6 separate regions of the Homo sapiens genome follow, and all the other regions are linked to region 2. Evidence: promoter capture Hi-C in human tissues and cell types (Jung and others, 2019). All regions are on one chromosome and are shown on one strand. The core of a region is centred on a gene start or on the middle of the fragment in contact, and the rest is flanking DNA. Distances in the headings are between cores, read along the strand shown.

Region 1 (3,151 bases), core at 305-2,804, 1.1 Mb after region 2:
CCCCGGGGCTCTGGCCTGGCCCCTGCAAGGGGAGGCCCAGGTGGGGTAGCAGGGAGCCCCCCGCTCTGTGGCTGCCTCCCCGGGGACTCAGTGTCCTTTCCATCCTGTGTGAGGAGCCACCTCGCCAGAGGTGCCACCTGGCTTACCTTCCAGAATCCTCACACCCACAAGCAAGTTCCGTTATTCTTTACGTTGTACAGACGAGGAAACTGAGGCCCAAGGAGGGCGTACAGTGCTCAGGACCACCCAGCAGGTGGTGCGGGCCAGGACAAAGGCTGGACATCGGCTGCAGCACCCCCACCACCATCTGCACTGGTCCCGGATGGAAGGAGGGTGGGAGGACAGGGAGGACAGTGGATGGAAGGAGAGGGTGGGAGGAGAGGATGGAAGGAGAGGGTGGGAGGAGAGGATGGAAGGAGAGGCAGTGACGGGGTGGGAGAAGAGGATGGAAGAAGTGGATGGGAGGAGTGGATGGGAGGAGTGGATGGGAGGAGAGGGTGGGAGGAGAGGCAGTGAAGGGGTGGGAGAAGTGGATGGGAGGAGAGGATGGAAGGAGAGGCAATGACGGGGTGAGAGAAGAGGATGGAAAAAGTGGATGGGAGGAGTGGATAGGAGAGGATGGAAGGAGAGGCAGTGATGGGGTGGGAGAAGAGGATGGAAGAAGTGGATGGGAGGAGTGGATAGGAGAGGATGGAAGGAGAGGCAGTGACGGGGTGGGAGAAGAGGATGGAAGAAGTGGATGGGAGGAGTGGATGGGAGGAGAGGGTGGGAGGAGAGGATGGAAGGAGAGGCAGTGAAGGGGTGGGAGAAGTGGATGGGAGGAGAGGGTGGGAGGAGAGGGTGGGAGGAGAGGCAGTGACGGGGTGGGGGTGGTCGCCGAGGATGATGGTGCCCCAGGGTGGAGGCACATGGGGAGCATGAAAGCTGGAGTGGGGAGGGCTCTTATTCTTAAGACAAATGAGGGCAACGATGGGGGTGTCTCTGGGCCCCTTAAGGGGCCCAGACCCAGACCCCCCAGAAGTCTGGGGAGCCCAGGCAGAAGGTGGCACCTCCAGCAGGGTCTTGCCCAGGCTGGCTGCTCTGAGCCCCAGGACCCCGGCCCGACCACACTCACCTGGTCCCTGCTACACTCGCGCTCACAGGTGCTCTGGGCGTCCACCCACAGGTTGGGGCTGAGCTGGTTGGGGCACACGCCCGGGTGGCTCCCCAGCCCTGGCAGCAAGCCAGCCCCCGAGGTCAGCCGGAGGAGGAGCAGGAGCGGCAGGAGTGGACGTAGGGCGGGCATGAGGGCCGCCGAGCCAGGGGGCCGGGGGGTGTGGCCACCAGCCCCTCCTCGGGCTCCACAGAGCCCAGCTTCCTGCAGGCATCCACCCTCCGGGCCTGTGGTCGGTGCCCCCACCAGGACCCCGGGGCTCCCTTTTGCCCCTGAGGCTGAAGCCTGCAGCAGATGCTTGTCCTGACACCCCTGCTGGGTGGGTAACGGGGTCTCCAAGTTCTCAGAGGCCGTCTGTGTGACGCTGGTTCCTCTCCAGCTTCAGCCTGGCCCCTCTGTCTGAACCGTGCGGGGGCTCCCAGGCCCTGGTCAGCACAGGGCAGAGGGGAGGAGGTTGGGGAGGGGCCAGAGGCCCATGAGCACAGAGCCACTGGCCATGAGGGTCACCGGGGCGGGGAAGGGCTGGCTCTGGCTGGAGAGGGGGAGGGGAGGGGACCCTGTAACCTGAACCCCTTCGTCCACCCCTGGGCTGAGATCAATCTCCTTGACGACCCTCAGTAGGGTGGGGGCAGGGCCAGCAGATCCCAGCTTTTGTCCCTGGCGCCCTCTGGACCCCAGGCTCCTATGCCATGGGGGTGGCAGGCACGGGCCCTCCCCGCAGAGCGTGGCTGACCACAGCCTGGGTCCCCCGGGCCAGGTCCAGGCTGGCAACGGTCACGTGCGGCCGAGGGCTTCACTCCGCTCCGAGGTTCCTTCCCCCCTCCATGGCTGTTTCAGGGGCACAGGGGTCTGCAGGACGCCCAGCACAGCCCGGCCTCCTCTGCTCTGCTGCCCCTGTTGGAGTGGGGCCCAACCCGGCAGGACTGCATTCCCAGAGACCCCATCCCTGAAACCAGGCAGCGGGCTTGGGGCTCAGGCCTGTCCCCAAGGCGGGGCAGGTGCAGCAGGAAGAGGCCTGTGGCCACCACAAGCATAAGAACAGCCCGAAACGCTGATGCCGGAGCCTCGGCCCACGCACCGTGTAGCCCTGGACGTGGCTCCGCGTGGGATGGCACCGCCCGAGGGAAGGCCAAGTGCAAGGGCGTCTGCAGCTGAAAAGAGCAAGTGTCCCAGGGCACCAGAGCCTTGCCCTGCCCCAGCCCCCCGTCGGCGGGGCACACATCCCCAGGCTGGCTCCTCTTCGTTGGGGAGGGCAGGGGGCTGGCCTGCCTGGTGCAGCAGGACAAAAGGCTGCCTGGAATCTACCCTTCCAAACCCTCTGTGGCTCCAGATGTCTGGGGCCTCAGGGAGTGGTTCTCTTGAGACCGGATGGGAGTGTCCCCCTGACCCTGTGTCTGACCTCTGACCCAGGAGGCAGGGTAACAGGAGCCTGGTCTGGTCAGAATGAGACCCGGAGACGGCTCCAGGCGCCAGTCCCTGCTCTACAAGGAGACTGGGGGTGGGCCCTGATAGCGTGGGGGTGGGGGTAGCTAGGCCAGACCCAGCAGCAGGCGGCTGGGCTGGAGCTGCCAGGGAGGGGCTTAAGGCCCGGACATGCCCACGAAACAGCACAGGGAGGCACCTGAGCCAGAGGCTGTGGTCTGGTCCCTGTACCAACTGGAGTGCCCCGTTCCAGCTCAGCTGTGACCTCCGGGGCGTCCACACCCCCCTGGGCCGGGCATAGCAGACACCAGATTGGCCAGCGTGCAGGCGGCTCTGCTGAGCGGGCCGACTGACTGGAGGACCTGGCCCTCTGGAGTCCTGCTGCTGTTGGGGACAGTCCGCCCCAGGCCATCTGCTGCCGGGGACTGTGAGCGAGGGCTCAGCACAGCCCAGCTGGGATTCCATCCACCGGGAAGAGGAGAATGGCCGTGACCAGGCCCAGCTGCTCCAGCCCAGCTCCAGCCCTCACTTTGAGGCGAACCCAGCCAACCGCGGCAGGTCAGCCCGGTCAGCGCA
Region 2 (3,111 bases), core at 1-2,500:
GCACCCCGTCCGCACCCCGCCCCTGCAGCCGCCTGGTCTCCCCGCCTCCCCTCCTCCCTGCAGGTTTGCGTGGCTGAGGCTCCCACCTCCTGACCTCGGGGGCCGAGAGCTTTGCGAGCTGACCCCGCTTCCTTCTGGCTTTGCAGAACTTGGACCACGGGAAGGCCTGGGGCATCCTGACCTTCAAAGGTAAGGCTCGGGAGAGCGGGTGCCCGGCAGTTCGATGCCGACCGCCGACGGCACAGCAAGTGTGTGCAGACGCCTCTTTTTCTTCATCAGGGAAGACTGAGAGCGAGGCGCGGGAGATCGAACACGTCATGTACCATGACTGGCGGCTGGTGCCCAAGCACGAGGAGGAGGCCTTCACCGCGTTCACGCCGGCGCCGGAAGACAGCCTGGCCTCCGTGCCGTACCCGCCTCTCCTCCGGGCCATGATTATCGCAGAACGACAGAAAAATGGAGACACAAGCACCGAGGAGCCCATGCTGAATGTGCAGAGGATACGCATGGAACCCTGGGATTACCCTGCAAAACAGGAAGACAAAGGAAGGGCCAAGGGCACCCCCGTCTAGAATGCCAGAACCAGCGGGTGGCCTTAGGGGCTGTGAGGCAGTGGGGACCTTATTGATGAAAGAAACCGTCTTTGCGTTACACCCGAGTCTGCCTCTCGGAGCAGGGAGCTCACCTTCCGCGACGTGTTCTGAGGGTCTGCATCTTAGGGGGGAGGGCTGGGGCAAATCGCCACCTGTGCCTTTCCTCTGGCCCTGCTGCCCCCACACCCAACTCCGAGGGCCCACGCTGGGGAAAGCGGGAAGCGCTCGCTCCCTTTCCCCCATTAGTGCTCTCTCTGCCTGGATCCCGGCAGAAGCTATGAAAGGGAATAAAGAGAAAAGAAGTACCCAGGGTCGTGGTGTCTTTGCGCTCTGTCTTTAGGACCGGGGAGAGAAGGGCTGACGCTGTGGTCGTGGCCCTGGCCGGGGGGGCGCGGGGGGGGCGGGGTTCGGGCGGTGCGGAGCAGGGCGCCGCGTGGGTGGAACCACCTGGGCGGGTTGTGGGGGATACAGTTAGTGTCCGAGCTGCTGGAGGAGACTTGGCCTCCGCAGCTGCCCTCCGGCCCCCCACGGCTGCCGGGTTCCGGGGTGCAAGTGAAGCAGCCTCCCCGCGGAGGCCGCAGCGCCCCGACCAGGCCTCTTTAAGCGCAGGCCCCGCCCCGGGCGCCACCGCCCCGCCCCGCGGATCCCGCTCCCGCACCGCCATCATGATCTGCCTGGTGCTGACCATCTTCGCTAACCTCTTCCCCGCGGGTGAGCCGCGCGGCGCGGGCCGGGGGCGGGTGGCCGGTGCTGGGCCGGCCTGACGGCCCGTCCCCGCCTGCCCCGCAGCCTGCACCGGCGCACACGAACGCACCTTCCTGGCCGTGAAGCCGGACGGCGTGCAGCGGCGGCTGGTGGGCGAGATTGTGCGGCGCTTCGAGAGGAAGGGCTTCAAGTTGGTGGCGCTGAAGCTGGTGCAGGTGGGGGCGCGGTGAGCGAGCGGGGGCGCGGTGTGGGGGGAAGGGGAGCGGGGACCTGGGGACGCCTAGGTGCCGGGTGCGGGCGCAGGCGGCCTGACCCTTCCGCAGGCCTCCGAGGAGCTGCTGCGTGAGCACTACGCCGAGCTGCGTGAACGCCCGTTCTACGGCCGCCTTGTCAAGTATATGGCCTCCGGGCCGGTGGTGGCCATGGTGAGTATCCGGGAAGCGGGCGGGCGGCTCCGGGACCCCCACCCCCGCGTGATACCGCGCCCGTTCCTCCGCACAGGTATGGCAGGGGCTGGACGTGGTGCGCACCTCGCGGGCGCTCATCGGAGCCACGAACCCGGCCGACGCCCCGCCCGGCACCATCCGCGGGGATTTCTGCATCGAGGTTGGCAAGTAAGGCCCGCCCCGGGGACGGTCCCAGCCCCGTCCGGCCTCCCCCTGTTCAGCCTGCGTGGTACCCGTGCCGGAGGTCTCTTTCCCACGCTCACACGCGCCTCTTCCGCGCAGGAACCTGATTCACGGCAGCGACTCGGTGGAGAGTGCCCGCCGCGAGATCGCTCTCTGGTTCCGCGCAGACGAGCTCCTCTGCTGGGAGGACAGCGCTGGGCACTGGCTGTATGAGTAGCCCGGCAGATGCGCGTCACAGAGGCTCTCACACTCCAGCCTCCTCCAGGGCCCAGGTGGGCGGGCTTCTGGCCCCACCCCACAGCGCTTGGAGCATCCCTTTGGACGGGCTGCTGAACATCCACCTGTCTGGACGTTGCATGGAGGGTGGCGCAGGCCTCTCCAATCCCTGGCGTACAGGGTTTCCTGCCCGAGGAGCTGCTCCAGGAGCCTGCGCGGCTCGCCTGGAAACGTGCCAGGACACTGTCCTGGTGCCCAGCCCAACGTGGTCCAACGTTTTTTTATAATAAAGTCCTCGTTTTCGTTTCGATTTGGGCCCAGGAACAGGCAGCTACGACGTTAAGACATTTATTACATACAGAGCAGATATGTGGGTTTGCTTGCAGGGCCAAAGCCTGAGGAGAATCGTCACCCCTCCCCCAGCCGCCCCACTGCTCAGCCCGGAGTCACTTCGAGATCCTGGGGGAACAGACGAGGGAGCGGACATACATCACAGTGGAGGTGGCAGGGTGGTGGGGAGAAGCCGGCAGCGCAGCGGCTGCAGCCCTCGGTGGCCAGCGGGGCTTGTGGGGCAGCTCCCCAAGATCTGTGCTTCTCTGGTTGGGGGTGGGTGCGGGGGCTGGGCTGCCCTCATAAGGGCCTCCCAGACAGGAGTGCAGTGGGCCTGGAAGGTAGGAATAGGCCAGAGAGGCCCAGCTGGGCAGGGAGAGCAGTCCAGGGTGGCGTCTGCCCTCTGCGGGCTTGGAGTCGGCTGGGGGCGGCTCCATCCTCAGCCCCACGGGCCTCTGCTTGGTGGCCTCTCTGTTGCTCCCTGGAAGCAGGCCACAGCGGGCAACCCTAGGCACTTAGTAGCGTGTCTGGGAGCTGGGCTCCGTGGAGCCCCGTGCAGGAGGCAGGCCCCGGGAGCACATCATCCCCCATCAACCTGAGGCTGAGCCTGTGTCCTAGGACTGATCCCGGAGAGGCCA
Region 3 (3,416 bases), core at 74-2,573, 1.1 Mb after region 2:
ACAAAAATTAGCTGGACGTGGTGGCGCACGCCTGCAGTCCTAGCTACTTGGGAGGCTGAGACAGGAGAACCGCTTGAACCCGGGAGGTGGAGGTTGCAGTGAGCTGAGATCAGGCCACTGCACTCCAGCCTGGGTGACAGAGTGAGAGTCTGTCTCATAAAAATTAATTAATTAATTACATAAAAATTAAGGCCGGGTGTGGCAGCTCCTGCCTGTAATCTCAGCACTTTGGGAGGCTGAGGCAGGATGATCGCTTGACATCAGGAGTTCAAGACCAGCCTGGCCAACATGTTGAAACCCCAACTCCACTAAAACTACAAAAATTAGCTGGGTGCAGCAGCTCATGCATGTAGTCTTAGCACTTTGGGAGGCTGTGGCAGGAGGATTGCTTAAGCCCAGGAGGGTGAGGCTGCAGTGAGCTGTGATTGCACCACTGCACTCCAACCAGGGCGACAGAAGAGACCCTGTCTCAATAAAAATTAAAAAATAAATAAATAAAATATAAAAATCGTAAAGGTTAAAGGGTAGACTCGGCCTGGGGCTGAGCACATGAGGTGCTCGCAGAGGTGGGGAGAGGCACACGGGTCGGCCGCTGCAGCCACCCAGCCGTCCAGGGCTGCTGCCGCTTGGCGGTCCCCGGGTCAGCACGGTGGGCTCCAGGCGCCCTCTGGTGGCGGCGTGAGGGTCAGCCCCAGACACCCTCCTGACAGCCTGGGCCCCGGACTTCTCCCCAGGCCTCCTCCAGAGAGGGGCCAGTGTCTGTGGTTGGAGGGAGGGGTTCCTGGGGTGACCTGGTCTGGAATGGCACATGCCTGGCCCCGAGTTGACGCCTCAACCCCGGGCGTCCCTGCCTCCTCCCCAGCCTCATCTCCGGGGATCCGGTGCCAATGCAGCCACCCACAGGAGAAGCCCTGGACACACACCCCTTTTCCTCACAGCCCCCGGCCCCACCCAGGAAAGCACCTGGCATCAGTGAGTGCTGTGCTGCCTACAGGAGGGGCCTGGAAGGCCGAGTCTGTCCTCAGTTGCTATGGGTACAGGACCCGACTTGCCAGGGTGCTGGTGCTCAGTAAATACCAGCAGACTAAGTGGGGGGTGGCTGGGCGGAGGAGTGCCTGGAAGGCATCCCCAAGCTTAGGTGATGCCGTGGCTGTCTGTGCTGTTTGGGGGCCCCCTCAAGTGCCCCAAGCCCCAGACCCTTGAGTGCCCTGAAACCCCAGAAGGGGCCTCTCTCCATTTCCACCCAAGTCAGAACGCGACAGCAGCAAGACATACTCAAGTCAGACAAAAGGAAGAACTTCCCTGAGGCTTTGTTTCAGAAACCTTGGGCCTAGCGCGTGAGGCCACCCCTGGAGAGTGCAGAGTCTGGGACAATCATCTCTCCCGCCTGCGGGTCAGCCTGGCCGTGGCCAAACACAGACGCCATATCACAAGGCCCCTCAGCCCAAGGCAGGGCGGCCAGCCTCACAGCTTGTCCCGAAGCCTGAGACTTGGTTTCTGTTCCTGTCTTGCCCAGAGGGCCCTTGGAGCTGCAGCCTGAGGGGGTGCTGGGGTGGGGGCGGTCGAGACCCTGGTCACTGCCACATGGTTCCCACCTTCGGCCACTGCGTTCTCCCCCCAGACACAGGTTCCGGCCCGTGGAGGACACCAGTGCTGCATTTGCCATGAGCTGGGCCCCAGCAGTGCGTGGCACAGGCAGCCCACGTCCCGCAGGGGAGCGGCTGCGGACAGGTGGCTGCGCCACGGAGTGCCGAACAACCCGCTGGGGACACCACAGTGCCGGGCACAGAATAGCAGCTGTCACGGCCAGGGCAGGAGCTGGCTGGCTGGGGCCCTGGGGGAGCAACATCAAGGACGAGGGGAGTTGATGGGGGGGCAGGAAGGGAGCCCCAACCCTGGGGAGAAGAGGGGCAAAGGCCCTGAGGCAGACAGAACTTCGAGTAAACCAGGAACCACAGAGGGTGAGCCCTGGGGGCTCCTTGTTTGCTTGAAGCTCCATCTGCCTCAGAGCCTTTGACCTGCTGCAAAGGGGAGGCGGGTAAGGCCGGCCCCACCCAGCCCATCTGCCCTGAGGGAGTTGGGGAGTTTGGACGCACCGGTGAACAGGATCCCCCAGGAAATGGGGAGGAAGCCTAGAGAGAAGGGCCAGATCGTAGGCCAAGACCCCCGCCTGTGTCTCTGTTCACTGGCAGCGGAGCGAGGAGAGAGGTGTGGGCTGACCTGAAGCCAGCGCCTCCTGTGTCCCCAGCTGAGCCCTGCACGGGATTGGCCAAATGTGCTGCTCTGCGGCCGCCCTGCTGCCCCCTCCCTGGGTGGAGCTGGGGTCTGGGACAGTGAAGATGGCTCCCACAGCTGAGGGGCACTGGGTGCCAAGAGCCTGCCAGACCCTGGGCCACCCAGAAACATGCTCTGATAGTGCAGCTGTGAGCACTGGCCTGCGTCCCCTCTACCCAGCCGACCTATGAGGCTCAGGGTGCTTGGGGGCCCATCAAGGACATAGTCCTAGCTGCCGACTCATCCAGGCAGCCTGCACAACCCCTGGCTCCCCTCCACCGGCCACCTGCCCCCCTGCACAGGCAGGATCCGGCCTCGCCCACCCACAGGCCTGCACCTCCGGGCCCACGGCAGCAAGATTCCTATCTTGGGGATGCTTTCCTCCCTTTGCCGAGAGACCCACCCCCCCACACCTTGCCTCTCTTCAAGGAGCCGAAAATGCAGCTGCCGACTGATTTGCTGTGGAGCTAAAAATAACTGCCGGGCTCCAGCCAGGGCCCAGGAAAATATCCCATTGCTAGGAGACAACCGTTGCCGGGAGACCGCCATTGCTAGGCGACGCGTGTTGCTATGGTGATGGCTGGGCCCTGAGTCATCCTTAGCCTTGATAGGGGGCGAGCCAGGCAGGGAGCAGAGCTGGGGGGCATCAGAGAAATCCCACCGCCCATGGCACTCAGGGCACCCCTAATGGCTGTGAGGTTCTCATGCCTATGGGTGCCCATTCTGGCTGTGGAGGGGTCGGGACGGCCAAACATACCCACAGCCTGCTGCTTCACATGGATGATCCTGGGTGCTCTCGGGCTGTGCTCCAGGCAGGGGGCAGGGGCAGTGTGTGGGGGGATGGTGGCGTGGCCATCTGGCCCCCGGAGCAATCACTTTGCTCTCCAGTGTGGGGATATCACCACAGGTGCAGAGCTGAAGTGAATGTGGGTCCCCTTGCAGTCCTCCAAAGTCTCAGGGCAAGATGTACCAGCAGCCTCTGGTCCTCATCCCCATGGCTCCAGAGTGCCCTCCCAGCCACCTAGATGGGAGACTCCTCAGTGCTGAGGCATCAAGGCAAGGGGTGGTCCCGGTGAAGTATGCTCCTGGTAGGGGTTCTGCAGGAGAGGGGCTCTCCAGGTGAGGGGTGCTCCAGGTGAGGG
Region 4 (3,480 bases), core at 217-2,716, 1.2 Mb before region 2:
TAGTCAACAAGTAAACTCACAAACAAAAGATAGAACATCGGACAGAGATCAGGGCAATAGCAAAAATAAGGCGGAAGGAGAGGTGAGAGTGAGAAGGCCAGCGTTTGGGGGAGGGTTGGCCGGAAGCGTACTCCTCCCACCCAGTTAAACAGATAAAGAGCCCCTCGGTGAGGGAAGGAACAATCCCTAGCCCGACTTGCTCCGCGAGGGCCCCTGCTAATCACTTTAGGGGATCATCCCAGCGTCCTCAGCTGTTTTTTTTTTTCCAGGAGAGGAGACTAATCCGAAGCTCAGAAAGGCTCAGTGCATTCCCAAGGTCGTTCAGCCAGGAGAGCGCTGAAGGGATCTGAGCTGAGAGCAAGTCTCAAACTCAGAGAATGGAGGAGCTGCCCCGGAAGTGGCTGCTCGAGGCTGCAGTGAACTATGATCCTGCGGCCAATCGCGGTGGCTCACGCCTGTAATCCCAGCCTTCTGGGAGGCCGAGGCGGGCGGATCGCTTGAGGTCAGAAGTTCGACACTAGCTTGGCCAACATGGTAAAACACCGTCTCTACAAAAAAATGCAAAAATTAGTTGGGTGTGGTGGCGCGCGCCTGTGGTCCCAGCTACTCAGGAGGCTGAGGTGGGAGGAACGCTTGAGCGGGGGAGGCGGAAGTTACAGTGAGTCGAGATCGCCCCACTGCACTCCAGCCTGGACAACAGAATGAGACCCTGTCTAAAAATAAAATACATGAGCCGAGTGCGGTGGCGCGCGCCTGTGATCTCACATACTCGGCAGGCTGAGGTTGGGAGAACCGCCTGAACCTGGGGACTGCACCACTGCATTCCAGCCTTGGTGACAGTGAGACCCTGTCTAAAAAAAAAAAAAAAAGTATCTGAGGCCTGTTGGCAGGGAAGCTGCAGGCAGGCGAGGTCAGGCCAAGCAGAGTCCTGCCTATCTGGAGAGCTTCCTGGAAGAGGCGGCTTTTTCTGGCTCCCGAAGCCGTGCGCTAGGGGTTGGGGGTCGTGCGTCTGGCCTCCCACCGCGACCCTGGTTCAGAACACGGCCGGAGTGAGAAGGGGGGTGCCGGGACCCAGGAGGCCGTAGGGACTTCCTGGTCCTACCCGGAGTAACCCTGGGGCTACGCCTGCTCCGAGCACCGGGATGGCGGTCCCTTTTATGGACCCAAACACTACGCCAGCCCAGCGAGGGCGGTGGGTGTCGGGTGCGAGGCCTGGAGGGCAGTGGGCGTCCCAGGGACTGGGCGGCTGAAGCCCCGCGCAGCGACTCAGAACCAGGCCGCCACCCACGCCCCGGGCCAGCGCGGAGAATCCTGTGCGCCTGCGCAGTGAGCGGCGGGGCGGCTCGGCGGCGCGCACGCAGCACGAGGGGCGGAGCCTCGGAGCCCGGGCACCCCTGACGGGCTGCACTGGGGAGGGGGAGGAGCCTCGAGGCCGGTTTGGAATTTTTGGCGCGAGCAGCTCCGCGCGCGTTCACGGGCCGTTCCCCCTCACGGGAGTCCTCCGCCCGGGCGTCCGGAACAGTCGACGGCAGACTCCGGCCCGCTGAGCCACCCGAGGGGTCCCGTGGCCTCCGCGGACCCGGAATCTGGGCCCTCGCGGACCCGCGCCCCGCCCAGTCGCCCCAGGTGAGCCCAGACCCCGCCGTGAGGGGCCTCGGCGTGGCCACCTCGCCGCTCCCCTCCGCCTCGCCAGGTCTGCGTTACCCCTGCCCCTCAGGCCTCCCCGGCGGCCCGCTCGCGTCCCCTCAGGCCCGCCCCCGCGAGCCCCTGCCTCCCGTCCTCCCCAATTCCTGGTTCCCTTGCCTCGAGCCCCTTCCCAGCGGCGGTCCCGCCCTACTCGCCCCTCCCGGAGACCCCGCCTGCTGTCCATCAACCCCGCGCCGCCGCCCTCCCCGTGACAGTCCTTCCTCCGTGACAGCCCCTGCCCCGGGACAGCCTCTCTTCTTCTGCAACAGCCCCTCTTCCCTCGTGACAGCCCGTCCACTGCTCTGTTCGCCAGGGCTTCCCCACACCCACGGAGTGAAGTCAGCCGCGGCCCTGCCTGGGAGGAACTTACCGTCTACCGGGAAAGGTGGCCAGCAGATGTGTCGGGCCTGGTGAGAGGGTGAGGCGAGACGGCCCGATCGCCCAGGGCCCCGGAAGCTGCGGAGGTCACCCCCGCCTGGCCTTAGCTCAGGGACACCCTGGATTCACGTGGGAGCCCCTGCTCCTGCCTCCCCCGTCCCACCACTGAGGCTGTTGGGCCAGGCCAGTCATGCTAGAACGTAAGTCGTAGGGCAGGGACGGTGGGAGAACTGGGTTAAGATGCACAGGCCCAGGTCCCCGAGTGTGCCAGGGTTGGGCCTGGAGGCTGTGCTTGTGACCAGTGACCTCCAGGATCCCAACACCCTGGCTCCTGACTTGGAGAAACCCTGGGCTGGGACTCTGAGGTAGTTAGAGTCAGAGGAAGAGTCTCCACAAGATGGAGGGCAGCCTGCCAGCCAGGCCCAGGTAGCATCGCTCCCCTCACCCCTGTACTCCCTCAGGTACTGGAGACTGCTCTTTTTAATTTTTTATTTACTATTATGTATATTTTTTTGAGATGGAGTTTTGCTCTTGTCGCCCAGTTGGAGTGCAATGCCGCAATCTCGGCTCACCGCAACTTCCACCTCCTGGGTTCAAGCATTTCTCCTGCCTCAGCCTCTGAGTAGCTGGGACTACAGGCATGCACCAGCACGCCCGGCAAAAATTTGTATCTTTAGTAGAGATGGGGTTTCACCATGTAGGCCAGGCTGGTCTCGAAGTCTTGACCTCAAGTGATCCACCCACCTTGCCTCCCGAAGTGCTGGGATTACAGGCGTGAGCCACCACACCCAGCCGCTCTATTGTTTTTTATAATACTTTGGTGCACCAGCCTCACCAACATGGTGAAACCACATCTCTACTAAAAATATAAAAATTATTCTAGTGTGTTGGCACACGCCTGTAATCCCAGCTACTCAGGAGGCTGAGGCAAGAGAATTACTTGAACCTGGGAGTCGGAGGCTGCAGTGGGCCGAGATCATACCACTGCACTCCAGCCTGGGCAACAGAGTGAGACCCTGTCTCAAAAACAAACAAACAAACAATACCTTGGGGCATAAAGTGTTCCACGGTCCAATCCAATTAAATTTTTTTTTTTTTTTGAGACAGAGTCTCGCTCTGTTGCCCAGGCTGGAGTGCAGTGGCATGATCTTGGCTCACTGTAATCTCTGCCTCCCAGGTTCAAGCAATTCCCCTGCCTCAGCCTCCCGAGTAGCTGGGACTACAGGCATGCACCACCACACCCAGCTAATTTTTGTATTTTTAGTAGAGATGGGGTTTCACCATGTTGGCCAGGCTGGACTCGAACTCCTCACCTCAGGTGATTTACTCACCTCAGCCTCCTAAAATGCTGGGATTACAGGCATGAGCCACTGTGCCTGGCCAGATCCAATTAATTTTGAGCTCCTTTGACAGGGT
Region 5 (3,399 bases), core at 255-2,754, 1.1 Mb after region 2:
GGTTCTGACCCCAGGGCTGCCTCTGGGATGGGTTCTGGCCAGAGCTCAGAGACAGCACAGCTCGAGCACTGTATTTTCCCAAGCACCCTGGACTTGGGCCTCTCCAGGGCTGAGAGCATGGGTGAGATATGGAGTGGGGAGTGCAGGTGCGGCCCTCACCAGGCTCAAAGCACAGGTCACTGGTGTACAGGTTCCTGACCAGCAGGCTGGCGCACAGCCTGATGCTCTTGAGATGGCCGTAGCACCGGTTCAGGTAGACCAGGAGAACGTCCTGCAGATCGAGCTGCAGGCAGGTCCAGCGGGCTCCGGAGGGGGCCAAACCCACCAGATCTGCAGGATGGGCACTCAGGGTCAGCGCCCACCCTCCTGACAGCCCGCGACTCCCAGAACTGTGAGCTTGTGCCCCCGCCAGGTTGTCCTCCAGGCCGCAGAGGAGCCTCACTGGGCCTGCACCAACTCCCTCCAGCCACCTGTCCTGGATCATCCACACCCCATCTTGGTGTCACCTCTCTGAGGTGTCCTGGCCTCCAGGACCAAGGGAAACTGGAGCCACGTGGCCGTAGACTTAAACTCCTTGAAGAGGTTGGAGAAAGACACACGGATGACTTGGTTGTCCTGTGGGGACGGAGCAGGGCCGTGAGGAGACAGGGGCCGCAGGGGTGCCGGGGCTCCCACGCAGCCCCCAGCCGCGGGCTCCGTACCTTGGAGGACACATCGAGGTGGATGACGAAGTGCTTGCTGGGCAGGGGCCGAAAGAGCACATACAGGTATCGTCCCGTCAGCCCCAGAGACTGGGTGCTGCTCTTAGGGAGCTGGATGTAGTTGGCGGCAGAGACTGAGCCCCGAATGCGATACACGGCGCCCTTCAGGGTCTTGTCCTGGAGAAGCGGGAGCCCGCATCACCGACAGCACCCAGAAGAAGTGCAGCGGGGGCGAGGGGGCCCTCGGGGGCGGGGCAGCTCTCCTGGGGGCAGGGCAGGGGTGTGGGCTCCGGGCGAGCCCCCGGCCGCCTACCGTGACCACGGCCACGTCCCCCTGCTTGGCGGAGCGCTTCCACTCGTCCACCCGGAAGTGTCTGAAGACGTTGAGGAACGGGTGCTGCCACGCTGCGGGGAGCGGGCGCCGGGCGTCAGGGGACTCGGCCACGCGAGCCGGGGCCACTGCGGGGCTGGGCCGGGCCTCGGGGACCAGGCAGGAGCCGGGGCTCTCCGCGCCTTCCCCGGCGACGCCAACGCCAGCTAGGCTGGCGGGACGAGGCCGGGCGCCCGAGGGAAGCCAAGCTCCGGGAGCCCGAGGGTGGGCGCCCGGCAGACGGGACCCTGCCTGAGCGGGGACTCTGGCCTCAGGGCCTAGGCGGGGGCCCTGAGCGCTCCGGCCGCCGACCCTGGACCCCGGAACCCCGGAACCCGGGATCCTCGGGACCCCCGCCAGCCGCGCGCTACCTCGGGCCATGGCGCCGCCGCTCGAGCTTCCCGCCTAGGCCTCCGCGCGCCCAGCGCAGAGTACGCCCCGCGACGCCAGGCAACGGCTGCCTGGCAACGGTGCCACTTCCGCCATTACTTCCGCCGTCATGGCGGCGCCCTGGCCACGTGACCTCCCCGGTGGGAGTACCCCGCTCACGTCAGCGGCCTCCAGGGTTGCTCCAGCCGCGAATCCCGCTGCCCTTTGCCCCGCGGGCCTCCCAAGGCAGCCCCCTGTTAGCCCGACCGGCTTCGAAGCCCGCGCCGGTTGCGGATCCTCCGCCGCGCCCACCTGTCAGCGCCTCGGCCGGCCGGGGCTCCCGCCGCATGCAAGCAGCGAGGCGAGGTCGCGCTGAGGCCTGGCCATGCCACGGACGGCCGGGCCTCACCCTGCCGCTCTCTCGCCGTCCAGAGGCCCCTGCTCCACACCTGGGTACCCTGGGTCCTGACTCAGGTGGGCTGGGTCATCCCCGTCCATCAGGGAAGGTAGTGCGGGCGCCCGCGGAGGGGCTGGTTCCCACGTTCGTCCTATCAGGTTCCCCACGTACTCCTTCGCCCAGTGTCCTGCGGCCGGGCCCGGCGGATTCAGAATGGGACCTGGCGTTCTGAGACACAGCCCCAGTGCCGGTAGTGGGGGGTGGTGGACTGCACTCCGGGGCCATTTAATGTCTTTAGGCCTTGAGTCTCGGCTTCGGTCCCAGTCAACGCCAACGGGAGAGGAAAGAGGAACCAAGTGGGGTCCCCAGACTTCCAAGCAAGGTGGGCTGGCTAACGTCCCTCCTACCTGTCGCAGGGCAGCTGGGTGAGAAGCTAACGGCTTGAAGGAACAGGGCTACAAGGGGAGTTTGTGCTGGGCCTGGCGTCCCAGGCTGTGGACTGGAACTGGACATGAGAACCCCCCCTACACCCTCCCAAGTCAAAGACACTCCAAAAAGACAGTTTCTCCACTTTATTAGCCTGGAGCTCCTCCCTGCCAGCCCCAGGGGCTGGTCGCTGGTCCCTGGGCACAGTGAGCAGGGCTGAGGTCAGACGGGTTCGGCCCTTGGCCATGGCAGCTTGGTTGGGACAGCCGGGCCAAGGGAAAAAAAGGTGCAAAAGTCCAAATGCTGGCACTTCAGGTGTGGCCGGCACCCAGCCAGGCGCAGTGGGTGGGCAGGGCGCCATGCTTCTCTCCTGGCGACAGGTCGGCCGTGTAGCAGCGCCCCCTCCCAGCAGCCACTAGGAACAGCTGGTGATTCTCGCCAGGAACTGCTGCGCCCACCACTCGTCTAGGTCAATGGGCACAAAGTCTGTGGGCAGAGAAGGCTGGGCAGTGATGCTGCCTCCCAGGCCAGCCGGCAAGTCTCCCCTGGAGCTAACCACAAGCCGCTCACCCGGACTCCGAGTGCGGCAGGCGCTGGGAAGAAGGGGTTTCTGCACAAGAGTCCCCTCCCTCATCCCCTGGGGTGGGAACCTGGCAGGGCCTGGGTCAGGATCAGAGGGGCTGGGGGGTCTCTCCTGGGGGGACAGGGTTGGGGGGCTCACTCTGCAGCCGGGGATTGGGGGTCCTCTCCACGTACTGCACAGGCCTTGGCCCGCCCTCACCGGCTGGGCCACCATCCAGCTGCTGTTGCACCTGCTGCCAGGCTGTGGGAGGAGGGCAGTCGGGCTGAGCCAGGTCCCAGGCACCCCATCGCCCACCCAGGGCCTGATGGTCACCCTGGACTCCAGCCCCACACAGGGCTGGTCACAGGACACAAGGGCAGAGTGCCAAGGAAAAGCACAGCCATGCAGCGGCTGTGGGTCAGCTTGAAGTGGGGCCATCCCGGGTCCATGGTTTTGCGACCCAGCAGCCTATGCCGCACCCTCTGGCCCCGCTCGCTACCTTCGGACACAAAGCGGACATTCTCCTCGTGGGCCACTGTGTAGGTCTCCTGGGTCCCCTCGAAGGATGGGGACG
Region 6 (2,528 bases), core at 29-2,528, 1.1 Mb after region 2:
AGCCTTCCCTAAAACCTGCCTCCAGCCTGGTGTTGGCAGAGCAGGCACTCCCCAGTGTCACACTGGGAGCTGCTGCTGAACCCTCAGAGAAGCCTCTTCCCCGCCCACTGCCAGTGCAGGGACACCAGGCCCCAGAAGCATAACTGTGGTCAGCAAGACCCTTGGAGCAGAGGGCTCAGGACAGACACGGCCACACCTGCAACCCAACACCCTGCAAGACAGCCGCCGCCTTGGCCCCTGCCTCCCCCCTCGCTACAGACAGAGTGACAGGACCGCAGTGAGGGGTGCCAACAGCAGGGGCTGCCCTGGGTGGCTGTGGCCTGTGCCCTTGCCTGGAGATGTCCCCGGCACACGTGCTCTGGTACTGGGAGCTCCGGGTGCCCGGAGGCCGGGACGGTGGGCTGGAGCACACAGCACGGGGACGTGGCGCACACAGAGCCCACAGGAAGAGCAAACGCTGCTGCCACCCCGGCAGGAGGGAGGGAGAGCCCGCGGGGAAGGGTCCTGTTATCCCTGGAGCACCACTGGACTGAGCGGTGCCGGCTCCCAGCGGGGTGCGCTGTAGGGGCCCCGACAACCCTCAGTGCGGAGGTCACAGAATTATCAGGGCCAAGGACACCCGGAGCACCTCGGTCCAATCCCCCAGGCTGCGAAGCGGATTAGGCCGAGCCCGCGCCCAGCCCCTCCCTCGTCCCGCGCACCACGGGTACCTTGTGGATCTCCTCCCGCAGCTCCTCGTCCGTCTGCTCGGCTTCTAGGGGGACAAAGAGACTCCACTGCGGACCCAGCAGGCCCGCCGGACCGCTGCGGGCCGGGCCCCCGGGAGGCTACGGCCGCTACCTGAGTAGTCCACGATGTGGGTGGGCACCTTCTCCGGGGTGACGTCCGCGGGGATGGTGATCTCCTCCGCGCGGGGAGGGACCTGCAAGGGACCCGCGCGCTCACCAGGGACCCCCGGCTGGGCCCGCTCCCACCCCCGCGGCGGGCGTGCCCCTTACCTCCTCGGGGAACTCCTCGCCCACCAGGGACAGGATCAGCGACGTCTTCCCCACCTGGGCTGCGCGGGGCGAGGCGGTCAGCGCGAGGGCCAAGGTCACGGCGCCCCCCGACCCCCGAGACCCTCACCCCGCCTCACGGCCGCCGCAGCTCCGAGACCCCCGGGCCGGCGCCTACCCTCGCCCAGTAACAGGATGCGCACGTCCCGCCTCATAGCTGCCGCCCGGAGCCGCTCCCCGACCCGGAACCCGGCCCCGACCTGGTCCTCAAGCCTTTCGCTCTGCCCCCGCGCCCGCCCCGCACTTCCGGTTCTCGGCCCCGCGCTGTCCCCACACTTCCGGCCCCGCCCGCACAGCCGCACCAGCGAGCCGGGCGGGCCAGAGCGGACAGGCTGTGCGGCGCGCCACCGTGTGGACGCGCCGGCCACGGCGGACAGCGCAGGGTCCTGGCGCCCTGGCAGGCCGAGCGGCCATTGCTTCACGGCACCACAGGGGCCTTGACAAACAGCCGATTAAGGGACGGGCAGAGGCTGAGCTCAGGCCAGGAGTGACCAGAGACAGCCAGTGCAACAATGCAGCAATAATGCAATAAATGCCCATGTTTATTACAAGATAGAAACATTAAAGATTTCTTAGGCAAAAGGGCAACAGGTATGAAAGTATTCACAGGGCGCCAAATTTACAACAGCTTGCTCCAGGCGATTTACGTGAATCCTGGCCTGTCCCAGCATGAGGCCATTGACAACCTGGCGCCTCTGCCAAGCCTGTGTCCAGGTGCCTGGCATGACCAGGCGTGATGCCCACCACCACAGTCCCTGCTGCATCTCAGAGGCCGGGGACCTCCCACACAAGGATCTCGTTGCGGGCGGCCGTGAAGAGCAGCCTGGCGGACGGTGTAAACCTGCACAGGTGCACTGCGTTGTCGTGGCCGGCAAAGTCTTGGGCAGTCCCCATGGCACAGTCTACCAGCCTCAGCATGCACTCTGTGGGTAGACGGTGCAGGTGGGCCAGGGCCAGGACCAGGCAGCACTCAGAGGGCTCCCCCAACCCACCCAGACTGTCCCCACTGGGCATGATGCTGGTCGGGGGAGCTGGTGCTAAAAGGGCTCCTGGCTGTGCCCTCCACGTGCCACTGGGACTAGGGGGTCCATCACTGCCAGGCTGTCGGCCTGCAGCTGGGCCAGTTCCCTCCTTAAAAGTCGCTGCCACCCGTGCATTCAGGCCCTGTGCTGGGCGCTGTGCCTGGTTCCTCACCTGCCTCATCATCTCCTGACTCCAGGACCCTCTCTAGGGCAGATGTCCTCACCCCACCCCAGAGACGAGGAGCCCGGGGCACAGGTGAGGCACCTGTCTTGGAACAGGGCACCAGTCAGCCCACTTGGCCCCCACCTAAGACAGGCCCAAACTGCATCCACCAGCACTCACCAGCAAAGCCAACAGCCAGGAGGTGGGTCCCGGGGGACAGGCTCAGGGACATGGCAAAAAAGGGCAGTGGTATCTTCTCCACCACCTGTGAGCAGCCAGCGTGAGGCT

The links. Contacts are between HindIII fragments. The study calls those that stand out against the background at their distance.
Region 1: a contact is called between the fragment with the promoter of WFIKKN1 here and the fragment with the promoter of NME3 in region 2, in 1 of the 25 tissues and cell types used here (spleen).
Region 3: a contact is called between a fragment that was not itself captured here and the fragment with the promoter of NME3 in region 2, in 1 of the 25 tissues and cell types used here (spleen).
Region 4: a contact is called between the fragment with the promoter of PKMYT1 here and the fragment with the promoter of NME3 in region 2, in 1 of the 25 tissues and cell types used here (spleen).
Region 5: the fragment with the promoter of WDR90 here is called in contact with the fragment with the promoter of NME3 in region 2 in 1 of the 25 tissues and cell types used here (spleen).
Region 6: the fragment with the promoter of RHOT2 here is called in contact with the fragment with the promoter of NME3 in region 2 in 1 of the 25 tissues and cell types used here (dorsolateral prefrontal cortex).

Annotation. Positions count from the first base shown.
Region 1 is chr16:629,388-632,538 of GRCh38, reverse strand. It overlaps WFIKKN1 (WAP, follistatin/kazal, immunoglobulin, kunitz and netrin domain containing 1), which reads right to left and starts at 1,554. Exons shown (of 2, transcript NM_053284.3): 1 at 1,115-1,554. The coding sequence starts at 1,285. RefSeq lists enhancers at 1,461-2,195, 2,376-2,670, 2,196-2,929. The HindIII fragment of the contact is 11,828 bases long and covers 1-3,151 here.
Region 2 is chr16:1,769,682-1,772,792 of GRCh38, reverse strand. It overlaps NME3 (NME/NM23 nucleoside diphosphate kinase 3), which reads left to right and starts at 1,250. Exons shown (of 5, transcript NM_002513.3): 1 at 1,250-1,304; 2 at 1,383-1,513; 3 at 1,622-1,723; 4 at 1,800-1,912; 5 at 2,027-2,473. The coding sequence starts at 1,259. The coding sequence ends at 2,144. It overlaps MAPK8IP3 (mitogen-activated protein kinase 8 interacting protein 3), which reads right to left. Exons shown (of 32, transcript NM_001318852.2): 32 at 2,442-3,111. It overlaps MRPS34 (mitochondrial ribosomal protein S34), which reads left to right. Exons shown (of 3, transcript NM_023936.2): 2 at 147-189; 3 at 280-898. The coding sequence ends at 572. RefSeq lists silencers at 1-44, 915-1,504, 1,815-2,014 and an enhancer at 525-614. The HindIII fragment of the contact is 25,298 bases long and covers 1-3,111 here.
Region 3 is chr16:709,149-712,564 of GRCh38, reverse strand. No RefSeq gene overlaps it. Among named protein-coding and RNA genes, the nearest start is that of METRN, 4.3 kb to the left of the region's middle. RefSeq lists a silencer at 576-705. The HindIII fragment of the contact is 2,976 bases long and covers 1-2,811 here.
Region 4 is chr16:2,978,432-2,981,911 of GRCh38, reverse strand. It overlaps PKMYT1 (protein kinase, membrane associated tyrosine/threonine 1), which reads left to right and starts at 1,466. Exons shown (of 9, transcript NM_004203.5): 1 at 1,466-1,626; 2 at 2,000-2,264. The coding sequence starts at 2,255. RefSeq lists enhancers at 147-1,023, 1,024-1,899, 1,900-2,776 and silencers at 1,133-1,492, 1,503-1,732. The HindIII fragment of the contact is 14,611 bases long and covers 1-3,480 here.
Region 5 is chr16:647,470-650,868 of GRCh38, reverse strand. WDR90 (WD repeat domain 90) reads right to left here and starts at 1,504. Exons shown (of 41, transcript NM_145294.5): 1 at 1,443-1,504; 2 at 1,015-1,106; 3 at 702-878; 4 at 507-615; 5 at 160-330. The coding sequence starts at 1,452. MCRIP2 (MAPK regulated corepressor interacting protein 2) reads right to left here. Exons shown (of 5, transcript NM_138418.4): 3 at 3,325-3,399; 4 at 2,985-3,086; 5 at 2,395-2,749. The coding sequence ends at 2,679. LOC105371038 (a long non-coding RNA gene) reads left to right here and starts at 1,556. Exons shown (of 2, transcript NR_135177.1): 1 at 1,556-1,914; 2 at 2,254-2,411. RefSeq lists silencers at 1,130-1,259, 1,370-1,469 and enhancers at 645-1,467, 2,890-2,939. The HindIII fragment of the contact is 7,525 bases long and covers 1-3,399 here.
Region 6 is chr16:666,882-669,409 of GRCh38, reverse strand. RHOT2 (ras homolog family member T2) reads right to left here and starts at 1,278. Exons shown (of 19, transcript NM_138769.3): 1 at 1,174-1,278; 2 at 999-1,057; 3 at 841-922; 4 at 711-754. The coding sequence starts at 1,210. It overlaps WDR90 (WD repeat domain 90), which reads right to left. Exons shown (of 41, transcript NM_145294.5): 40 at 2,421-2,505; 41 at 1,580-1,978. The coding sequence ends at 1,821. RefSeq lists silencers at 811-900, 1,001-1,100, 1,161-1,500 and an enhancer at 886-1,567. The HindIII fragment of the contact is 52,780 bases long and covers 1-2,528 here.